Linked DNA regions of Homo sapiens: region 1 is linked to region 2. Evidence: promoter capture Hi-C in human tissues and cell types (Jung and others, 2019). All regions are on one chromosome and are shown on one strand. The core of a region is centred on a gene start or on the middle of the fragment in contact, and the rest is flanking DNA. Distances in the headings are between cores, read along the strand shown. Region 1 has its middle 14 kb from the start of PIGY. Region 2 holds the start of TIGD2 (tigger transposable element derived 2).

What was found. Contacts are between HindIII fragments. The study calls those that stand out against the background at their distance.
Region 1: a contact is called between a fragment that was not itself captured here and the fragment with the promoter of TIGD2 in region 2, in 1 of the 25 tissues and cell types used here (spleen).

The regions. Positions count from the first base shown.
Region 1 is chr4:88,507,720-88,511,738 of GRCh38, reverse strand. It overlaps the pseudogene NCOA4P2. Among named protein-coding and RNA genes, the nearest start is that of PIGY, 14 kb to the left of the region's middle. The HindIII fragment of the contact is 3,240 bases long and covers 510-3,749 here.
Region 2 is chr4:89,108,690-89,112,804 of GRCh38, reverse strand. TIGD2 (tigger transposable element derived 2) reads right to left here and starts at 1,272. Exons shown (of 2, transcript NM_145715.3): 1 at 922-1,272; 2 at 1-738. RefSeq lists a silencer at 1,015-1,464 and enhancers at 1,545-1,624, 1,655-1,764. The HindIII fragment of the contact is 12,010 bases long and covers 1-4,115 here.

The DNA of each region.
Region 1 (4,019 bases), core at 880-3,379, 600 kb after region 2:
TGGGTATGAGACTCAAGGTAGACAAATAAGAAAGATCATCTCTCTTTGGAATTTAAAAACAGCTTTATTGAGATATGAGGCATACAATAAATTACACACATTTAAAGTGTGTAATTCGACAAATTCTGGGATATGTATATACCCGTGAAACCATTCTCACCATTGAAATAATGAACATATCCATCATCCCCCAAAGCTTCCTTGTGCCATTCTGTAATCCTTCCCTCCTGTCCCTCCTCACCCCCATCCCATTTCCCAGGCAACCACTGATCTGCTTTCTGTCACTATACTTTACCTTGCATTGTCTGGCATTTTATATAAATGAATCATACAGGATATAATCATTAACTTCCTTCACCCAGTATAATTATTTTGAGATTCCTGCATGTTGTTGTGTCAACAGTCCATTCCTTTTTATTGCTGAATATTATTCTATAGTATGGACAGACCACGATTTATTTATGTATTCACCTATTGATGGACATTTGAGTTGTTTTCCACTTCTGGCTATTATAAATAAAGCTGCTATGAACATTTGTATGTAATCCTTGCATGGACATACGCTTTTATTTCTCTTGGGTAAATTCCTAAGAGTAGAATAGCAGGATCATATGGTAGATACTTCTTTTTAAGAAACTGCCTAACAGTTTTCCAAAGTGGTCAAACCATTTAAATTCCCACCAACTGTATATAAGAGTTCTAGTTCTTCCACATTCTTATCAACACTTGGTACGTCTATTTAATTTTAGCCATGGTAATAGGGGTGATGTGGTACCTTACTTGGGTTTTAATTTGCAGTTCTATAATGACACGTTGTTAAGCTTATTTGCCATTGATATATCTTGTGTCTGTTCAAATCTTTGCCCATTTTAAAATTGTGTCTTCATTATTGAATTTTGAGAGTTCTTTACATATTGTGGGTAGGATACAAGTCTGTCTTTGTCCATTTTGTGCCGCTATAACAGAATACCTGAGACTGTGTAATTTAAAGAACAGGAATTTATCTCACAGTCTGGTGGCTGGGAAGCCAAGATCAAGACATCAGCAGATTTATTCTCTGGTTCAAGCTGGCACCCTTGTTGCTGTGTCTTCAGAGTAGGAGAATTGTGTTCCTCATGTGGCTGATTGTTGCAAGACTCCTTACTTGGAGTCAGAGCAATAGTAGGTAATACAGTTCTATGTAAAGAATAAAGGAGGAAGCAAAAAGGTTCCAGTCAGTTGAAAAGATTCCCTTTAAAAAGACTCCTCAGGAGTTTTGTGTGGGGCTGTGTCTCTGTCCACCCAAAGTCCCCTGGATCACCCGGAGAGGGATTGGGAGCTGGAGCAGTGAGCAGAATGAATACCTCACATGACCAGAGTGGCTACTCCAGTAATAGAGAACCCCTTTTGAGATGTAGTAATGCATGGAAGGACTTGGAGCTTGCTATTGGTGGAGTTCCCTGGGCCAAACAGCAAATTAAAGATAACTTGTGAGAAGTCAAAACTCAGATTCAGAGTTGTATAAGCTGTCACCTAGAATGCCTTACGAACTGTGAGGTGGCTGTATGAACAGGTAGACCTCATCTATCAGCTTAAAGAGGAGACACTTCAGCCACAGGCCCAGCAGCTCTACTGGTTATTGGGCCAGTTCAATGGTCTTATTCATTAACGGAAGTGCACCCAAAACAAAGATCTAGCCAAGTCTCTGTGTGCCTGGAGAGACTGGGCAGTTTGACCCTTAAGTTTGAAGATTCAACTGTCCTGCTGTTTGAAGCAGACACAACTGCTCTGCATGACTATCACCACATTTGGGTTTCTCAAGACCATTCAAATTCCTAAACACTTCATGCCTCATGCTAGCTTATCAAGTATCAGGCCCTTCCTGGAGAAGAGAGGCTATATCCTAATGCCAGAGCAGAAGTCAGCATCCAGCATCACAGATGTCCCTCTCAGGGAATGGCTCCTTGGAAGCAACCATACCAGTGGTCTTCAGGAACAACCCCCCACGACTGGCTCACCCAAAAGCAGACGTTGGAGAATAGACTTCTTCCAGAGCCTGCAGTTTCTTCAGTAATGTCTCAGGCAACCTAAAGGGCTTTGAAAACTTGCTCCTCAAGAGTCAGCAACAAGAAGTTCCAGAAAAACCAAGTTATCCAAAGTGACAGCCATTTTACTACCAGTTCTTTCTCCATTTAATTGAAAAGGTGGAAGATCTAGAGCTTTCTGATCAAGGTGAGATGATCTATCTAGTGGCTGGTGATTCCCCAGGAATCCTGTAAGTTGGAGAAGCCTGAGAATGGCAGTTATGAAACCAGTGAGAAGTTTAAATTCTTGTTCCATTCCTACAATGTGAATGATTGGCTTGTCAAAACCAACTCCTATATCAACTGTTGGGTCAACCAGCCCAATAGTGTAGAGATTTTGAAAAACCTGGGCAATGTGAAGTGCCTGAATGACTACTTGGAAGCCAAGAAACTATTTTCTACCCTCAGCATCGTTTCTGAGGATTGACTTGTCCAGAACCATCAGGACCCATATAAAGTAGAGGACATATGCACAGCCAATGAGCCCTGCAGAAGTTTTGCAGAGTGTATGATGAGAATTGAGAAGGAAGCTCTGTGTAAGTGGCTTCTAAAGAAAGATAGACAAAATAATGGGATGCCTGAGGAAACCAAACCTGAGCCTGAGAAGCATCAAGATTCCCTGAATATGTGGTCCTGTCCTTCAAGAAAAGAACAAGCTAAGGCATCAAAGGCAACGGCTCCTTCTAGAATTGCTGATTCAAGTCATAAACAACAGTCCCTTGTCAGAGTGGCTAATCCAGCCCCCATATAAGGAAGGAATTCCCAAGGAAGTGCCTAGTACTGAGGACAGGGCTGGCCAACAAAAGCTTAAAAGCCCCACAATCACTTCCTGGTGTCCCTTTAATACAGCTGACTGGATCCTGCCAGGAAAGAAGATGGGCACCCTCAGCCAGTGATCCTCTGGAGAAGACAAGTGGCTACTTCGGAAGAAGGGCCAGGAAGTATTACTTAATCCACCCCTACAGGAGGAACATAACTTCCCCCAAGACCATGATGGCTACCCTACATTTTGTGATCTCTTTGCCTGTATGAAGCTTAAAATCGAGAAAGAGAAGTGATTATATCAAACTCCTCTACAGATGTGAAGGAACAGACAAGAGTTCAGCAGCTTTTCTGCAGATTATTACACATCCATGAGCTAAGTGACTGTGACTTGCCAAATAATTGTGTTTCTGGGTCCGACCAGTTAGCTTAGTCCCTTTCCTGCCTAAATTTGAACTAGTGAAGAAAAATACATCATCGGATTATGAGTTACTATTTAAACAAAAAATGCTGAGGTGACTCAGTTCTTTCCTTTTTACAGAAGTATTAATTCACCCCACACTAGAAATGTAGCACCTTGGTGGAGTTTTTCACAAGCCTCCCACACTCCTTAGATTGGGTTATTACTAAAAGTACATTAAAACACTGTAGTTTTAAAAAGAAGTATTTCTGTAATTGAAGTGTATTGTATTCTAAAGCTAGTAAACTTCCCTAACTTTTAATTGTTCTTTAGCTGCTTCTCTTGCTGTTTTCTTCTATTAGAGGCTGAAATAATTTTTCTCTTCTATTAATATATATTTTGCACAAAAAATTAATCCTGCCATTAGTGATTACCAAAACATGTACTAATAATCTTGGTAATTTTTGACACTAATTACCAAACATTTTAGCCTACATATTAGTTTTACATCATTTTTCTTCTTCACTTGAAAGAAACTGAGCTACTGCAATGTTTTTCTTTATTCCTTTTTCTAAATCAAACTTGTCCAACCCATGGCCCACAGGCCCCAGGATGGCTTTGAATGTAGCCCAACACAAATTTGTAAATTTTCTTAAAACATTATGAGATTTTTTTTTTTAGCTCATCAACTATTATTAGTGTATTTTATGTGTGGCCCAAGACAATTCTTCTTCTTCCCATGTGGCCCAGGGAAGCCAAAAGATTGGACATCCCTGCTTTAAATGTTATTAGAG
Region 2 (4,115 bases), core at 23-2,522:
TAAAACTTACAAACTTCCTACAACAAAGCCTAGCGCCAATTAACTCTTATCTTCTATCTTTCTTCCTCCTCAGGGTTCAGGGTCTTTCATGAAGTGCAATCACACTAGAGGCTAGAAACTGTACTGGTAAGGCTTCTAAAACAGTACTATTGCATACTCAATTCTTGCCATCCTTGCAGGTAATGTTCTTTGCCAGAATAGCCACTAAATCTCAGGTGGAAGTATTTTAGGAAATGTGCTAGGGAGTAAACAGTTTAAGTCAAGAGAGGACTTGCAAACTTGACATACAGGAAAATACAATGGGAAAACTCACCCTCTGACTATGTGGTCTTTGTCAAGCAGTGGATTGTATGGAATGCTGTCTCTCTAGGCACGGACTCTGCTATAGGTTGCGCAAGTGAGTGCTTGTGGAAATCATACGCAAGAGAAGATGACCCGGACAGAAGTGAACAGTGCAAATAAGGTGAAAGTGGAACAGGCAGAAAACTCTACTTTAAAAGCGACTTAAACCTACTAGATTTGGCAGCTGGAAAGGAGGATAGTGGACATGTGATGTCACATTACTAAAGAAAGCATCAAAAAAACTGCATCGGTGGAAATGAGGACCCAAGGTAGAGGCTATGGGGTGGCAGGCTCGGTGAAGATGATGTTACAATAATCCTGGTGAAAGACGATCCTCGATGGACCAACAGAAGCAGTTCCTGTGGGGGCTGTAGAGATACTCGGAGGCTCCGAAACCTAAAGGAAAATACCAAAAACATTTTCTTTCAATTCAACATCAGGATCTGTGGCATTATCCACATTTATCCTGCAACTATGTTGAGAAAATTAACGCCTCCTATCAATGTGATAGCTAAATACGACAAATAATGCTTTCAGGCATAATCTGGGGTGACAGAGAGAGGGACCTGAAGAGCCTACCTCCTGAAATTAAGAGGTCAGGGAGAAGCCGTGTTAGCGAGGGCCTCTCCCCGCTGGGCGAGCTTCAGAGCGCGGGACGTCTTTCCTCCCGCGGAGGGAGCCCGGATTCCGCCTGGACGCCGGCGACCAGGATGTCACTGCTGCAGCCAGCCAGCCAGCGGGCGGCCGCTTGGCACAGGGAACGCCAGTCCGCCGGCCCCGGGCATCGCCCTGGGACCGCCTGCGCGGCGCCCAGACCACACTAAGCGCAAATGGAGTCTCCTGAGGCAGGCTGGCACTGGTGGCCCGGCAGCGGCGAGGGACGAGCGGAGAGGGACGAGCGTCGCCGCCGGAGCCGGAAGGCGGGGGATTAGAGAGCACGCGCGCGCCCCCGCAGAACGTTGTGCCGGCGAGGGGGCGGGGCCTGCGCGGGTGAGCGCACGCGGCCCGGGGGAGGGGACTCCGGCGAGCGGGCGGGAGGGGCGGGGGCCCGGCAGGGGTGCGTCTCTAGGCGCTGCGTGGGTTCCACTCACCGCCTGGCCGTTTCGGGGCCGCAGTGCCTCCCTGGCCGGCAGGGGGAGGCACACGCTCGCCTTGTCCTGGCGCTTTTCCCAGTGGCCCGGCTCTGCCGACGAGGCTCTTTTCTCCCTAGGGGGAAATTTTAAAATCTCACCCCCCCAGTGCTGGGGGGAAAGCGGAGGATCCTCGCGTGCCGGGAGCGGGCTGCGAATGGGGCAGGGCGAGCGCACGTGGGGCGTGTTTACAAACAGCAGCCGCGCCGCCTTGCGGAGGCGGTCCAGGTGTCGGAGCCCAGAGTCAGCGCGCGTGGAAAGTGCTAGCCCGAGCGAGGATCATGAGGCACGGTAGGAGCCGGCGGACGTGGGTTCCGGGCAGGAGCTGGGGCGTTCGCTCGGCAACACCCAGCCGGACAAGCCCAGGGTGCCGAGGCGCGGCGGGCTGCGGTAGAGCCGAGTGTCGGGTCAGCGCTCCCCGGTGCTGATGCTCCGAAACTCGTCACAGTCGCTGTAGAGACGGACCCTTTGCAAAATCGACAGCACCTGGGAGACCCTTGAGCCAGTGGGAGGCGTCGTGGTAAATTTCCTGCCGTGCCTCGACGCCCGGGGCTTCTCAAGTGGAATCGGGGAATTGCGCTTTGACTGATACTCCCTTTATTTGTTTCCAACGGAGACATCTGCGGAAGGGTCACCGCCTTCCTGGAGGAGAGAGTGGTGCACCTCCACCTTGCACCACCTGTTTCCTGGGAAACGCGGTCAGGCTGCCTTCCTTTCCGTCTTGTGTGTGCGTGTCAGTTTGAAAAATTGGAAATTCTTCAGTGAATTATCTCTTCCATATGAACATAAATGTAACCTTTTCGTTAACACAAAGTAACATAGTAATTCGTCATTTCTTTGACAAGGCCATATACTGTTTCTGGAATTTCAGAAACTTGGAGATGGAAATCAAAGCGAGCATACTGTAGAAAACAGATGTTGATTCTAAGCCTTCTGTTTGACTCCGCCGCCAAAACTGCTCAATTGCCTTTCTCAACATAGCAGCCTTCCACTATCTGGCATGACAGAAATTCTTTGATCTAGTTATGTTGTGAGGTTGTAAGTGGCTTTTGGAGAATACCTGCTTTTAGACCTCCCCTCTTCCCTGCCTTCCATTTGGCTTCCAACAAGCCAGTCCCTTTCTGGAAGTCCTGGTTGCCTGTTTTGGGTACATTATAACTTACTTCATGGTAGTTTTATATAACTTTACAAAATATTCTTATTTTCCCTGATACCTGTGAAGAGCGTGAAAGACTGCTAGAACAGCACTTTACCGACTGCCACCCATGTGGAAATGAGGCAGCCTGTAACCAGATGTCAGCCGCCTGCCTTTCCGCCTCTCCCCCGAGTCTGCTGGAGTAGCTGTGTCCCAGGATATTTAAATACAAAGGAATCCTGCCTCTTACTCTTCCTCTCTTTTCCACAGTATCTCTAGGATTTAATTTTCTTCCAGATACCATTTGCATTTTTCTCTGTTCCTCCTGGATTCTCCAGTTTGCTGTTTTATGTCTTATAGCTGTTCCCTTTTTATCACCTTGTGTAAGTTCAAATCTGGATACAGCCCACATTTCTAGATTTTCTCAAAACACCGCTTGACTCAAGGCAATTGTATTTAGTAGACTTTTACTAAGATTTTACTCAAGGCAATTGTGTCTTTACACAAAACAGTTTTATTGGGCAAACTTTCTCCTTTTGTTGGGGGAAGGGGTGGCTAGTTGTGGCAGACATATTACAGCACAAGGGGGAGAGGACTTAGAATGTTAAGAATATGTATATATACACACATATATATATAATAAGAATATATGTATGTGTATGTATGTGTATTTTTGAGACAGGGCTTCTCTCTGTTGCCCAGGCTAGAGTGCAGTGGTACGACCATGGCTTGGGCTCACTGCAGCCTCAACCACCTAGGCTCAAGCAGTCCTTCTGCCTCAGCCTCCCGAGTAGCTGAGACTGTAGGCTACAGGTGCGTGCCATCATGCCCAGGTAATTTTTGTATTTTTTGTAGAGATGAGGTCTTGCTATGTTGCCAGAGCTGATCTCAAACCCCTGGGCTCAAGTCATCCTCCCACCTTAGCCTTCCAAAGTGCTGGGATTACAGGCATGTGCCATCCTGCCTGGCCAATAATAGATTCTTAAGGTGGTGAAACTACTCTGTACAACTGTAATGGTGGGCACATGTCATTAAACATTTGTTCAGATGCACGGAATGTACAACACCAAGAGTGAACCCTAATGGAAACTATGGACTCTGTGATAAAAATGTTTCAAGGCAGGTTCATCAATTGTAACTGATGTTCCACTCTGGTGGGCAATATTGATAATAGGGAGGTTATGGATGTGTGGGGGCAGGGAGTATGTGGGAAATCTCCCTATCTTCTGTGGAATTTTAGAACCTAAAACCATTCTAAAAAATAAAGCCTATTTCTTAAAAATGTAGGTTCAAAAAAAAATGAGAATGTTGGGTGCCTAAGGCAAAGTTGCCTTACTCTTTCTCATGTACTATATGCTCAACACAGCACACACCAAGCAGTTCTCCACTGGACACAGCTGGGTATCCTATAATTCATTTCAATTCTGATACCATCTGCCTGGAGTGTCCCCCCAACTTCAAATTCCAATTCCAAGTAGTAGGTTGTTGTCAGGTTCCAAGCCCAGCTG